Linked DNA regions of Homo sapiens: all the other regions are linked to region 5. Evidence: promoter capture Hi-C in 16 types of primary human blood cells and fetal thymus (Javierre and others, 2016). All regions are on one chromosome and are shown on one strand. The core of a region is centred on a gene start or on the middle of the fragment in contact, and the rest is flanking DNA. Distances in the headings are between cores, read along the strand shown. Region 1 holds the start of ORMDL3 (ORMDL sphingolipid biosynthesis regulator 3). Region 2 holds the start of MED24 (mediator complex subunit 24). Region 3 holds the start of CSF3 (colony stimulating factor 3). Region 4 holds the start of CACNB1 (calcium voltage-gated channel auxiliary subunit beta 1). Region 5 holds the start of PPP1R1B (protein phosphatase 1 regulatory inhibitor subunit 1B).

Region 1 (2,700 bases), core at 1-2,500, 300 kb after region 5:
GAGATCAATAAACTAACAAAAAGACTGGCAATGAGGAAACACTCTTGAGACTTTCGTGTGACTATGGATACATATCACTTCCATTAGTAAAACAACCAACTGGCCCCTACCCTAGATGGGGAGAAACAGAGAGAAGAGGCTGGCAGAGGTCGACTAGGTCTACAGGAGTTGAGCCGAAAACTTCTGCTGCCATAGCTGGCAGGTGGCTGCTTAGTGCTGGGCCCTGATGTGGTTTCATAACCTGCCTCAAACCAGAGCCTGCAGCAACTCTGTTGTGTTAACCACTTTTTTGCTGGTAGCTCTTTCCCCCTCCTTCCCGCCCCACCCTCTTGGCTCCACATACAAATATCCGGGCCCAGCCAGTATGCCAGACACTCAAGCCAAGGCTGAGCACCACCAGGGCAGCCACCAGGTGAGCCCTTCCCATTCCCTCCCCCAGGAAAGAGCAGCCCTCACAACAGCAAACCTCCTGTCTTCTGGAAGAGGAGCACAAAACATCCAGGCCTGGATGGGGACCCCAACGGGGAGTCCGGGGCAGCACGTCACAATGCCATGTCCATTCCGCCCACCCCCCAAGCTGCAGGACCACAGCTGATAACCTCTCAACTTTGGCCCAGCCACCCCGACTGGGGGAGGGCGGTAGGAGCGGAAAGCGAGTGCCCAGGCGAACCCGCACTAAGCACAGGAGAGGAGGAGCGAAGAGGCGGAGTCCTCACTGTTGTTGGGGTTTTCTGAGTGAGACCTCGGGTGCGGGGCCGGGGGGAGGGGTCCCGCTCTGTTCCCCAGCCTGGGTCTTCGCACTCGGAACCCGGTCCGGTCCGGGACCCCACAGCCATCTCCACGCGTTCACCCAGCCCTGGAGGCAGCCAAACGTTTATCCCCGAAGCCGAGCCGCTCCCCGCCTCCCACCCCTAGCCGAGGCGCTCCTCCCGACGTTCCACCCCCGGCCTCCCGCTCGCACTTTATTCCTTGGCCACCTCCCCAGCCGATGCACCCCCTCGGCTGATGCACTCCCTCCACCCCCCACTCCCTCTGCCCCCGTCTCTCCAGCCCGGGGCGCCTCCCCAGCAGCCCCCACCTTCTCTCCCGCCCCTCCCGTAGCCCTGGGGCCTCTTGGTTCCTTCCGGGCTCACCGTGTGGGGCCGAAGATCAACGGCCCGGGAACGGTTCCCGGGAGCGGGGGCCGCTGCTGCTCCAGCAGCTGTAACAACCCGCGGCTGCAGCCTCCCCGCTGGCAGCTCCGGCCGAATCAGCGCTCCGCGCCGGTCCCCGTACGTCACCGCCCCGCGCCGGCACGCCCGACGCCTTCTGGGAGTTGTAGTTTCTTCCGCTGGCTCCGGGCCGGCCCTCCCGACGCCTCCTGGGAGTTGTAGTTTTTCCTGGGCTCCGTTCCCGGCCTCTTCGGGGACGCACGGTTGGAAGTTGTACCGTGACGTGATGGTCAGATCGGATGATAGAATTTTGGTGCGTAACAATTCCAACTTTTGCTTCTGTGCCCTTCAAGTGTATTTTATCCGTGCCCCAGTTTTGCAGATGAGGAGACTCGGACTTGTAAGTAACTTTCTGTAGGTCTTTGCTGGGTCCTAGACTGGATCGAAACCCAAATATTCTGACCCCAACTGCAGGATTTTTCCACTGCACCTGGCTGCCTCCGCCCTGGCCCCAGATTGGCTCCTCCAGAAACAGACTAGCCCGGCCCTTTGCCCTGCTGGGCCCTCCTGGGAGAGCGCTTTTCACAACATTGGCTGGGATGAGGGTCTGGAGGGCCCGGAACGGAGCCTGCCTTCTCCTTCTCAGTCACGCTTGGCCCAGGCTGCCCCGGACCGGGCCACATCCTTGGCCGCCCCGCACCTGACGTGAGAAGAGGCTACGTATCATAGATTCCTCCATCAGTAGTAAGGAGCCTGAGTTTCTGTCTCAGGTCAGCTTGTGTGGCTTTGAATGAGAGGCTCTGGTCTGCAGTTTTCACATCTGCATCGTCTAAAGGCAAGGGCACAGACTTTACTGCCTGGTAGACATGGGGTAGGCCCTCCTTTATTGGCAGTGTGACCCTGGGCAAATTACTTGTCTTAATCTCCAATTCCACACCTGTGAAACCCCACCTCCAAGGTTGTGGGAACCCAAAAGAATGTATGTAAAGCACCTGTTGCATTGTAGGAATCTACTTAATATTACTGTAGGAGGTTGAACTAAATGGCTCTTGAGGTCTCCTCGGTTACTCCCATTCTCCATGTCACCAAGAGGTCTTGTCTGGGTAGTTTCAACTCCTTACCCAGCTTCTTTCTAAGTCCACTCTATGCAGGGCAGGGCTGGAATAGCAAGGTCAGATGATGTCATGGCATGCCAACCTGACTCTGAATGGCAGTTCATGGCACCCTGAACTGAAAGTGAGGGAACAGGAAGGAAAAGGCTAGCCCAGGGAAACTGCGGAGCACTTTACTCGGACTACACCTACCTTTCCTTCCCCAGGGGGCTGCCAGGAAACAGTTGTCACACAGCTGGAGTGGGACCCCCAGAGGCACTTAGTGGTCACCAGGCAGGTGGGTATTTGAACCACCCAGAGCAGAACAGGCAGCTTCTTCAATATTTCCAGGGCCAATGGCCCCAAAAGGGCTCATTCCAAGATCGAAATAATCATCTGAGTCTGAAATAGCTCTGCCTATGTCCTGTGGAAGTTTCTCCTGGTTTGTGGAGGTGCCT
Region 2 (2,700 bases), core at 122-2,621, 430 kb after region 5:
TGATCCTCCCACCTCAGCCTTCCAAGTAGCTGGGACTACAGGGGCACCACCACGCAGGGGTAACTCTTTGTATTTTTGGGTAGAGACTGGGTTTTGCCATGTTACGCAGGCTGGTCTTGAACTCCTGGGCTCAAGCAATCCGCCTGCCTCAGCCTCCCACAATGCTGGGATTACAGCCATGAACCACCGGGGCCCAAATGCACTCCAAGTTTTTTACCCCCAGAACTCTCACTTCTTGGTGGGGGTTTGCGGGAAGCTTACCTGGGAACTAATGGCATACTTCAGGTAGGACAAGATGAGAGGATTGGGGGATGGTCCAATCATGGCCTGCTCTAGTAACGCATCTGCAAGAGGAATAGCAAAACACAACTGAGTGATTACAACTTCTCTGGGTTTATCCCTCCCATCTTTCTTTCCCAGTTCACTTGAGACCTGCCAGGTTGAGAATATCCCAGGTGGCTCCTTTAGGAAAGAATTTCTTCATGTTGATTGCCCATTGGTAGTCACTCCAGCGCTCCTTCCAGGCTTGCAAAATGGCTTGCTTCAGGTTGACCACCTTCATTATTTCACTCTGAGCAGGTGGCAGCGGTGGCGGCCAGCTTTGAGGTGAAAGAAATGGAGCTAAAGAAAAGGACATGAGGTTCTAAGGAGAACCGGGGAAGGCAGAATTAAATAGAAAGGAGAAGATGCGGGAAGATTTAAGCGAGACAGAGGAATTTGAAAGAAAAAGAGCTAAAGGGATAAAGTAAGATCCTGTCAGACTCTCTCCTCCTGAACCGCCCTTCCTTAAACTGGGGCACTAAGAAAGTATCGGCCGAGCGCAGTGGCTCGCACCTGTAATCCCAGCACTTCGGGAGGCAGAGGCGGGCGAATCACCGGAGGTCAGGAGTTCGAGACTAGCCTGACCAACATGGAGAAACCTCGTCTCCACTAAAAATACAAAATTAGCCGGGCTTGGTGGTGCATGCCTGTAATCCCAGCTACTCGGGAGGCTGAGGCAGTAGAATCGCTTGAACCCGGGAGGCGGAGGTTGTTGGGGTGAGCCGAGATCGCACCATTGCACTCCAGCCTGGGCAACAAGAGCAAAACTCCGTCTCTCAAATAAATGAATAAAGAAGTATCAAAGGGACTAATAGATTAAACAGGGCATCAAGGAGTTAAGGCAGTCCTGGTTGCCTAATTACGCCCTTAGCTCTAAAAGCGTCCCTTGGCCACCACCATTCCAAGTCCAGATTTGCTCCCTCATTTCCTCCACCTTCTCCAGCCCTGTAACTATACCTCCCAATTTCCTTTTCATCCACCACCTCCCCAAATTTAAGCCTACCGCACAATCCAGTTCTAGGTGGTAGGCATCGCCATTTTGGCACTTGTCAAGAAGCTCACTTTCTATTGGCTGGGAGTAACAAACGCCAACCAATAGAAATGCAGCAAGGAACGCCCCGCTGTCTTCTGGGAATGGTAGTTCCTTGGACTGAAACCGTATTTGTCTGCGCCGGCGAGGAAACTAAGGGACTCGTCTAGTCGGCCCGCATTGTTCTTCTCCTTTAAGGGAGGACATCCAGGAGCTGAGGCACTACAGAGACTCAGGGACTCGAGGGAGCTCGAAAGGCCGCTCACAACCCGGCGTCGCCCACGACGTCACTGTCGACCGGGCTTCTCCATCATATTCCGACACCCTTTCATTCGTTAGCCCCTAGTTAGTAGGTGCGGCAAGGGTGTGGCGTGGGGGCAAGGGTGTGGCGTTCAGCAATAAGGTCTTTCTCCTTTCCTGGGCTCTTTCTGTTCTCCTAAGCCCCTGGAGCTACCAGAGCTATTCTCATTTCCACAACTATATTCTAAAAGCGACACCGAGGTGCCTTAGTTGCACACATATCACCGTCCCCGAATCTTACAGTCCTATCAGAATCTCCAGGCCCTCCATACAGCTTGGATACAAGGGAAAGTAAAGAGGAAACTAAGGTGAAGGTGATCAAAATCAAAGGAATTCTGAGAAACTGTCACAACTAAGAGGGCTAAGGAGACCTGATGACTAAATGTAATGTGGTTTTCTGAATGCGATCATGGAAGAGAAAAAGAATACTGGGTAAAAACTAAGGAAATCTAAATAAAGGGTGGACTTTAATTAATAATAATGTATCAATATTAGTTCATTAGTTGTTACAAATGCATAATACTAATGCTAAGATGTTAATAAAAAGAGAAATTGGGTGCAGAATATGTGGGGACCCTCTATTACCTTCCATTTTTTTCCTGTAAATTAAAAACTTGTTTTTTTAAGTTTCTTGTTGTTGTTGTTGTTGTTGTTGTTTAAATCTTGCTTATCCCAAAGATCCATATATAAATTATGCCCAGGGCTTTGGCCATAGCCTTTCCTTCCCCCAGTGAGAAACCCGAAAGCAAATGTTACCCACCTCTGGAGGCTCCAATGTCTGAGCCTTCTTATGCATAGCCCTCATCCCTCCCCATGCTATGGACTGGTCATCCCTAACATTTACAACCAGGAATAAGAGTAAATTACTCGGGAGGCTGAGAAAGGAGGATCACTTGAGCTCGGGAGTTCAAATCCAGCCTGGGCAACATAATGAGACTCTCAGCTCTACCAAAATACATAAATAAATAAACATGGAGGCCTTTAGCCAGGGCCCAATATCCTAGTTCACAAGTTCAAGCTCAATCTGTATTCCTCAACAAAGATTCTTT
Region 3 (2,700 bases), core at 91-2,590, 390 kb after region 5:
ACGCCTGTAATCCCAGCACTTTGGGAGGCCGAGGCGGGTGGATCACGAGGTCAGGAGATCGTGACCATCCTGGCTAACACGGTGAAACCCCGTCTCTACTAAAAATACAAAAAATTGGCCGGGCATGGTGGCGGGCACCTGTAGTTCCAGCTACTCGGGAGGCTGAGGCAGGAGAATGGCGTGAACCCGAGAGGCAGAGTTTGCAGTGAGCCGAGATCGCGCCACTGCACTCCAGCCTGGGCGACAGAGCAAGACTCCATCTGGAAAAGAAAAAGAAAACGTTCAGGTCTGAGCCAGAGGCCCAGGCTGTAATTCTGTCACTTACCATGACCTTGGGCAAGGCACTTCCTTCCCTGGCCCAGTTCACGGGGTTGGAATCGACTCCAAGGTCCCTTCCAGCATTAACGCTGCATGGTTCTAAGATGAGAAGATGGGGCAGTTTCCCCTCTCTCACCCCAGCCCGTGTCCACTTCAAGGTGAATGACCAGGGAAGTCACGTGTCCCAATCCCGCAGTTCCAAAGCCCTTGGGGACCCTACTGTCAGGGTCGTGCACGAGGAGGTGAAGGTCAGGTGAGCCAATCGCCTCGAAGGGTCTTGCCTCATTCGGGACAGACATCCGGTTTCCTCTGGCTCTACCGGGATTCTAGGGGCTTTAGCCGAATGAGTCATGGGGGGCGGGGGGGTTTCTGGGGGAGTTCCCAGCTAATCAACTTGGGACAGGACAGCCTGGAACTTTCGATGGTGCCTATCCAAGTGTGGGGTGGGCACAGCAGCCAAGACCCAATGTCCTTATCTCAGGTAGGGGCTCAGGAGGTCTCCCAGACAGGCAGCCTCCGGAGAGTTTGGGGGTAGGAATGGGAGCAACCAGCTTCTTTTTTTCTCTCTTAGAATTTGGGGGCTTGGGGGACAGGCTTGAGAATCCCAAAGGAGAGGGGCAAAGGACACTGCCCCCGCAAGTCTGCCAGAGCAGAGAGGGAGACCCCGACTCAGCTGCCACTTCCCCACAGGCTGCTGCCGCTTCCAGGCGTCTATCAGCGGCTCAGCCTTTGTTCAGCTGTTCTGTTCAAACACTCTGGGGCCATTCAGGCCTGGGTGGGGCAGCGGGAGGAAGGGAGTTTGAGGGGGGCAAGGCGACGTCAAAGGAGGATCAGAGATTCCACAATTTCACAAAACTTTCGCAAACAGCTTTTTGTTCCAACCCCCCTGCATTGTCTTGGACACCAAATTTGCATAAATCCTGGGAAGTTATTACTAAGCCTTAGTCGTGGCCCCAGGTAATTTCCTCCCAGGCCTCCATGGGGTTATGTATAAAGGCCCCCCTAGAGCTGGGCCCCAAAACAGCCCGGAGCCTGCAGCCCAGCCCCACCCAGACCCATGGCTGGACCTGCCACCCAGAGCCCCATGAAGCTGATGGGTGAGTGTCTTGGCCCAGGATGGGAGAGCCGCCTGCCCTGGCATGGGAGGGAGGCTGGTGTGACAGAGGGGCTGGGGATCCCCGTTCTGGGAATGGGGATTAAAGGCACCCAGTGTCCCCGAGAGGGCCTCAGGTGGTAGGGAACAGCATGTCTCCTGAGCCCGCTCTGTCCCCAGCCCTGCAGCTGCTGCTGTGGCACAGTGCACTCTGGACAGTGCAGGAAGCCACCCCCCTGGGCCCTGCCAGCTCCCTGCCCCAGAGCTTCCTGCTCAAGTGCTTAGAGCAAGTGAGGAAGATCCAGGGCGATGGCGCAGCGCTCCAGGAGAAGCTGGTGAGTGAGGTGGGTGAGAGGGCTGTGGAGGGAAGCCCGGTGGGGAGAGCTAAGGGGGATGGAACTGCAGGGCCAACATCCTCTGGAAGGGACGTGGGAGAATATTAGGAGCAGTGGAGCTGGGGAAGGCTGGGAAGGGACTTGGGGAGGAGGACCTTGGTGGGGACAGTGCTCGGGAGGGCTGGCTGGGATGGGAGTGGAGGCATTACATTCAGGAGAAAGGGCAAGGGCCCCTGTGAGATCAGAGAGTGGGGGTGCAGGGCAGAGAGGAACTGAACAGCCTGGCAGGACATGGAGGGAGGGGAAAGACCAGAGAGTCGGGGAGGACCCGGGAAGGAGCGGCGACCCGGCCATGGCGAGTCTCACTCAGCATCCTTCCATCCCCAGTGTGCCACCTACAAGCTGTGCCACCCCGAGGAGCTGGTGCTGCTCGGACACTCTCTGGGCATCCCCTGGGCTCCCCTGAGCAGCTGCCCCAGCCAGGCCCTGCAGCTGGTGAGTGTCAGGAAAGGATAAGGCTAATGAGGAGGGGGAAGGAGAGGAGGAACACCCATGGGCTCCCCCATGTCTCCAGGTTCCAAGCTGGGGGCCTGACGTATCTCAGGCAGCACCCCCTAACTCTTCCGCTCTGTCTCACAGGCAGGCTGCTTGAGCCAACTCCATAGCGGCCTTTTCCTCTACCAGGGGCTCCTGCAGGCCCTGGAAGGGATCTCCCCCGAGTTGGGTCCCACCTTGGACACACTGCAGCTGGACGTCGCCGACTTTGCCACCACCATCTGGCAGCAGGTGAGCCTTGTTGGGCAGGGTGGCCAAGGTCGTGCTGGCATTCTGGGCACCACAGCCAGGCCTGTGTATGGGCCCTGTCCATGCTGTCACCCCCAGCATTTCCTCATTTGTAATAACGCCCACTCAGAAGGGCCCAACCACTGATCACAGCTTTCCCCCACAGATGGA
Region 4 (2,700 bases), core at 182-2,681, 430 kb before region 5:
CCCCGCCCTTCTCTCAAACCAGACATATACCCCAACTCAAGTTGTGATGCTCCCTACAAACCTAGGAGGATCACCCAGTGAATCCCAGACACCACCCTCCCCCACCACTGCCAGGCTGGGCAAAGGGAGTGGCACTCAGAGGGACAGGGGACAGCTGAAAGGAAGGCCCCAGTCAGCTGCCTCCCAGGCTCAAAGGGGCCTGGGGTGGAGGAAGGTATTTTTAGGTCTGACTTGACCCCTCTACATACCCATCAGTCACATTATCATGGTGGTTACAGCTGGTGGCCACAGTAACAGAAGAGTTAATGCTATCCTTGGAGAAGGACACTCCCAAAGAAATCCCCTGGCGCGACCATCCCAGAGCCTGCTGGTCACCCCATGAGAACCCACCGCGCCCAAGAATGCCACTTCCTGGGAGTAACCAGGGGTGTAGGAAAAGTGTGCGGGTGGGGATGGAGAAGTAGACCCCTCCCCCAGGTAAAACAGCTTCCCCCCCTCCTATGAGTTGGCATCCATCCAACTTTCCAAACTTTGGAGGCGTTTTTGGGGCGGGGGTGGGGGTGGGGTAAGTCAACGTGGGTGTGGGGGGAGGGGAGCAGGTCCGACATAGAGATGGAGCCCAGGTGGCTGGGAGGGGACCTCGACCGGGGTTGGCTCTTTCCCCACCCTCGAGAACCAGTGTCTGCGGCTTTGAAGGCCTGTTGGCATTTGGCACCGCCCTCTGACCATCGCCTCGGCCACCTCCTCGTGCCACCCCCGCCCCACCCACACCCGCCTGGCGCCCCCGAGCGTGCTCTGCGTCGCCCCCCTTGCCTGGCTCGCTTTCTAGCCTCTTTCAACCTCCCCTTCTCAAGGCCCAGATCCCCCTCCACCAGCACCCCCACGCTCAGCCCACTGAAGCTGGTGCCCAAGCGGCAGGAACCTTGACGCGGGGGAGATAAGGAGGCGAGGGTGACAGGCAGCCCACCCGCCCCCTCCCCGCTCCGCAGCATCGCCACCCAGCCCCAGGCCCAGCGCCCATCAATCACAACCTGCAAGGATGGGGGGCGCGCAGGCATCCCTCTCTCCTCCGCGCCCGGCATATAACCCCTTCCTCTCCCGCGCCTCTCGAGCCGACCTTAACACGGTCCGCGGGAGCGACCCCCTCCCGTTGGGCCGGGCCACCACGCCTCACCTGCGGGCTGGGGTCGAAGACCTCCATGGGGATCTCCTGGGAGGGTGGGTAAGGGCCCCGGGACATGCTGGTCTTCTGGACCATGGAGAGGAGCCTCCCCTCCCGCCGCCGGCCCGGCCCAGCCGGGCTCCCTCAGCGCATGGGAGAGGCCGTGGGAGCCGAAAGCAGCGCGGCGCAGCCAGCACCCGGTCCAGCCACCCAGCTCGGCCTTCGGCTGCCTCCTTCCTGCCTTCCCTCGCTCCTCCCGCTCTCTCCACTGCCGCCGCCGCCTCCCCCGTAGGCTCAGCATCTCCCCGCGCCCCTCCCTCGCTCCCTCCCTCCGCCCGCCCGGCCCCGCCCCTCGCAGCCCCTCCGCCGGCTCGGCGCACACAATGGGCGTGCGGCAGCAGGGAGGCAAGCCCCTCTCGGCTCTAGGTGGCCGCAGGTGGGCCTCTGACTGGCCGTGGGGTGCAGGCGGCCCGCTGGGGCGGGAAGGCAGAAACTAGGCGTGGAACTTGGGGGAGGGGTGGGGGGGCGGTCTACCAGTGGATGCCGAGCGCTGATGGGGATTGGCATGGCTGGCACCACCCCCCTTTTGTCCCAAACCTCTCTTCCTGCGGGTCCCCCCAACCCACTCCTGTTTGGACCACCGGAACTTCCCGGTCCCGGTGATCCTGGGACCTGGCTTTAACTCCTTTCTCCCCAGTGTGGGGCCCAGGCTGCCTCAAACCAAACAGAAAAGCCTCTCCCTCCAACATGGCTCTGGGGCTGCCGGTGGGAGGCTGAGGCTGAGATGGGGAGGGTGTCCAATAGAGACAGCAAAATAAATCCCAGGGGTCCAGGAGTTCTGCCCTAATCAGTCACTAGGATACACCGCCCCCCCAACCCCTGTTCTTCCAAAAGGCCAGGAATGGGGCTGGGTGAGGTCCCTGCTCTTGGATGAGAAAAGAGGAAGAAATATGGAGCTGAGAGAGGAGAAGCTGGTAAAATCAGATCTCATGACCTTTGACCTAGAATTGCGCCACCTTTACCCCTGATTTAGGGAGAAACATCCAAGATCTGGATGCCACCCACCATGACTGGTGGAGAGAAGAGGAATAGGAGATTCTGGGCAATAGACTCTGGCGCCAATTTGGCTCAGGCTGTTTCTGGTTGTATAGCCCCGGACAAATCACCTCTCTGAGCATCAGTTTCCTCCTCTCCTATAAAATGGGGTTGCTGGTACTGTGGAGTCTGTGTCACCTGGTATTATTGGGAGGATGAGGGAGAATTAAATGAATTGCTGGGGTGTTTGGAGAAGCTGTAAGTTTCAATGAAGGGGTCACTCATGACAGGAGGACCCATTCCCTTCCTACTCCACCCCTTCTCCTGCTCCACAGAAAGGAGAGATGGAGAAGACCCTCTCCAGGTCAAGTGACCTTACAATAAGGCCACCACCTTGCTGTGTTCCGCAGGACAGGAGACTATGGGACTCCTCCTCCTCACCCAACTCTAATAGCAAGTGAATGGTCAGTCTGTCATTCCTCTGATCACAACACCTTGGGGAA
Region 5 (2,700 bases), core at 66-2,565:
ACCCCAATTCCAGAAGATTCCTCTGGCCTTTCACTCCACCCAGGACCCAGATGCTGGGGCTGGGAGTGGAAAAGCTGCAGGAGGATTGGGGGTTTCAGGCCTGAGAGTGACCAGGAGAGAGGACGCCAACACAAACAGAGCCCCAGGAAAACATGCATGTACACGTCTACACACACCCTCTCAGTGCTAGACAGAAGCATTCAGACCCTCTGCACAGCTCCAAGGAGGGAAACAGCAGCTCCTGCAAAGGCACCCAAGGCCCGGACAAATAGACCAAATAGACAGGGACATTCCACCCACAGGGCCAGCTCCTCCCGCTCCCGCTCCAGAGACACACACAAATACCTCTGGAGAGAGAGAGGCTCACACCTGTCTCCCCCAACCCTGCTTCTGAATGCACCAAATTCATGCACGTGATGGCACGTGTACAGGCAGCCCCCAAACCCACCCCAACTCTGGGCCGGCCCTGTCCTCCCCACCCCATTAGATCCGGAGAGGAAAGACAGGAGCCACGTGAATCTACAGTACATCATGGCAGGGCACATTCCCCTTCTCCCTCACAGGAGCGCTCACACATCCACAACCTCATACCCCAGCAACTGCACAGCGGAGCTGTGGATACAGTCCCCCACCCCCTGCAAGCTGGCACACGCCTGCCCATCACCTTGACAGCCTCTGACATCCTCCCCCACACCCACACCCTCCCCCGCACACACGCAGTCCTCCCACACCCTGCCACTCACACCTGCATCTTTGACACTCTGACACACTTACACAGACACACTCACACCACACCGGACCCCCCAAAACACACTCCCTGGCTATGGGCACCACAGGGCCCCGGCACACCCCTGCACACTCTCCCTGCCACGATGACTGACACGTGTCCTCCCACACACAACTCGGTCACACTCGCTCCCTTTCCAGGACACCCCCATTCACAGCGTGACAGGCTGGTACTCTCCCCACGACCTCGCAGGCCTCTCTGAAACTCCCAGTACCAGGACCACGAAGGGGTTAAAGCCAGAGTCCTGCCTCCCCGCTGCCCCTCTCCCCCTCCCTCCCCCTTTATCCTCTCTGCTGGACTCCATCAATAATGCAGCTTCAAGTTCTGGGGAGACCGCAGGGGGCCCCCCAGCTGGCTCCCCAGGCCTTGGCTCTAACTCCCACCCTCCTCCCAGCCCCAGGAGAACACGATTCTCCATGCTCATTGGCCAGTTTCCCCTAAACCCTCCCTCCGAGCACCCGGGCGCCAGTCCCAGGCGGAGGGGACGGGCTGGGGACCCCAAAGCTGGGACCGGAGGGTGAGCCCGGCAGAGGCAGAGACACACGCGGAGAGGAGGAGAGGCTGAGGGAGGGAGGTGGAGAAGGACGGGAGAGGCAGAGAGAGGAGACACGCAGAGACACTCAGGAGGGGAGAGACACCGAGACGCAGAGACACTCAGGAGGGGAGAGACACCGAGACGCAGAGACACCCAGGCCGGGGAGCGCGAGGGAGCGAGGCACAGACCTGGCTCAGCGAGCGCGGGGGGCGAGCCCCGAGTCCCGAGAGCCTGGGGGCGCGCCCAGCCCGGGCGCCGACCCTCCTCCCGCTCCCGCGCCCTCCCCTCGGCGGGCACGGTATTTTTATCCGTGCGCGAACAGCCCTCCTCCTCCTCTCGCCGCACAGCCCGCCGCCTGCGCGGGGGAGCCCAGCACAGACCGCCGCCGGGACCCCGAGTCGCGCACCCCAGCCCCACCGCCCACCCCGCGCGCCATGGACCCCAAGGACCGCAAGAAGATCCAGTTCTCGGTGCCCGCGCCCCCTAGCCAGCTCGACCCCCGCCAGGTGGAGATGGTAAGGGGCCCGTGCCCCACCCCGGCAGCGTACCCGACACACCCCGCGGGGCTTCTTCGCCCTCCCAAGGCGCTGCCCCGGCCGGACTGGCCTGGGGGTGGGGGCGCAAGGAGAGCCGGGCTCTGCCTCGGTCAGGACGGGGCGCGGGGCCGCGTGTGAAGTTAGCTGGAGACTCGTGCAACTTTTCCCCGCGGCTTTGGTCCTGATCCCGGGGCAAGAGAGTTCCTGGCAGTGAGGCTGGGGGTGCGGGGGTGGGGGGACAGGCCGATTCCAGACCGCCCAGGAGTGGGGTGGGGGCGTCCTTTGGTCCCAGCACAGTCCCCAAAGGGTAGTCAGTCTCCTAGGCTACCACCGGGACCGCTCCGCCTGGCTCTGTCCCAGAGCTGGTCAGATGTGAGCAGCGGTGGACACTGACCTTGTCACCCAGGGCAGGAGTATGAGGCTGCCACCGGGTGAATCCACTACCCTGCCCCTCTCTAATCCCGCGTGTGTGCCTGGGCTGGGGTCTCCAGAACCTGGCTCTGGCCTCCTGCTGTCAGGCCCCAGAGCCCCAACCCCAAGGAGGGAGAGGTGGGGAGTCATCACAAAGCCAGACCTCTTCCCACAGACTACTGAGTCCTCCTGAGGGCCTTCTTGGGGGTTGAGGGGCTTCCAAAGGCTGGCGGGTGCTGTGACAGAGAGCTCCACTTCCCATCCCTAGTGGAGCAGGGGTCACTTGTTGCTGAGCTGAGATGCAGCTGGCTCCCCACTGAGCAGTGATGAGGGGGCCAAGTCATTATGGGGGGAGATAGAGGGCAGGGGGTACAGTCCTGGGCCTAAGCAGCTTTGGGTCATGAGGGTGTCATGGGGAGCTTGGCTGGGGA

Evidence for each region. The method cuts DNA at HindIII sites, captures the fragments that hold promoters and counts their contacts. A CHiCAGO score of 5 or more calls a contact.
Region 1: the fragment with the promoter of ORMDL3 here is called in contact with the fragment with the promoter of PPP1R1B in region 5 in 14 of 17 cell types (activated CD4 T cells, naive CD8 T cells, total CD4 T cells and 11 more); the score reaches 15.6 in activated CD4 T cells.
Region 2: a contact is called between the fragment with the promoter of MED24 here and the fragment with the promoter of PPP1R1B in region 5, in 11 of 17 cell types (fetal thymus, total CD4 T cells, naive CD8 T cells and 8 more). The highest score is 18.7, in fetal thymus.
Region 3: a contact is called between the fragment with the promoter of CSF3 here and the fragment with the promoter of PPP1R1B in region 5, in 5 of 17 cell types (naive CD8 T cells, fetal thymus, total B cells and 2 more). The highest score is 8.8, in naive CD8 T cells.
Region 4: a contact is called between the fragment with the promoter of CACNB1 here and the fragment with the promoter of PPP1R1B in region 5, in 4 of 17 cell types (naive CD8 T cells, total B cells, neutrophils and 1 more). The highest score is 7.2, in naive CD8 T cells.

What each region holds. Positions count from the first base shown.
Region 1 is chr17:39,926,351-39,929,050 of GRCh38, forward strand. It overlaps ORMDL3 (ORMDL sphingolipid biosynthesis regulator 3), which reads right to left and starts at 1,251. Exons shown (of 4, transcript NM_139280.4): 1 at 1,134-1,251. It overlaps LRRC3C (leucine rich repeat containing 3C), which reads left to right and starts at 1,382. Exons shown (of 4, transcript NM_001195545.2): 1 at 1,382-1,464. It overlaps LOC124903999 (a long non-coding RNA gene), which reads left to right and starts at 370. Exons shown (of 2, transcript XR_007065750.1): 1 at 370-412; 2 at 578-652. RefSeq lists enhancers at 505-1,115, 1,116-1,727. The HindIII fragment of the contact is 24,326 bases long and covers 1-2,700 here.
Region 2 is chr17:40,053,037-40,055,736 of GRCh38, forward strand. MED24 (mediator complex subunit 24) reads right to left here and starts at 1,372. Exons shown (of 26, transcript NM_014815.4): 1 at 1,325-1,372; 2 at 433-599; 3 at 262-344. The coding sequence starts at 562. RefSeq lists an enhancer at 1,572-1,631. The HindIII fragment of the contact is 3,100 bases long and covers 255-2,700 here.
Region 3 is chr17:40,014,100-40,016,799 of GRCh38, forward strand. It overlaps CSF3 (colony stimulating factor 3), which reads left to right and starts at 1,341. Exons shown (of 5, transcript NM_172219.3): 1 at 1,341-1,415; 2 at 1,592-1,746; 3 at 2,134-2,241; 4 at 2,386-2,532; 5 at 2,696-2,700. The coding sequence starts at 1,376. PSMD3-AS1 (PSMD3 antisense RNA 1) reads right to left here and starts at 542. Exons shown (of 3, transcript NR_198981.1): 1 at 455-542; 2 at 139-260. RefSeq lists an enhancer at 1,251-1,750. The HindIII fragment of the contact is 16,036 bases long and covers 1-2,700 here.
Region 4 is chr17:39,196,238-39,198,937 of GRCh38, forward strand. It overlaps CACNB1 (calcium voltage-gated channel auxiliary subunit beta 1), which reads right to left and starts at 1,432. Exons shown (of 14, transcript NM_000723.5): 1 at 1,175-1,432. The coding sequence starts at 1,258. RefSeq lists silencers at 630-759, 1,190-1,589, 1,600-1,729. The HindIII fragment of the contact is 8,246 bases long and covers 1-2,700 here.
Region 5 is chr17:39,625,637-39,628,336 of GRCh38, forward strand. It overlaps PPP1R1B (protein phosphatase 1 regulatory inhibitor subunit 1B), which reads left to right and starts at 1,316. Exons shown (of 7, transcript NM_032192.4): 1 at 1,316-1,837. The coding sequence starts at 1,757. The HindIII fragment of the contact is 16,288 bases long and covers 1-2,700 here.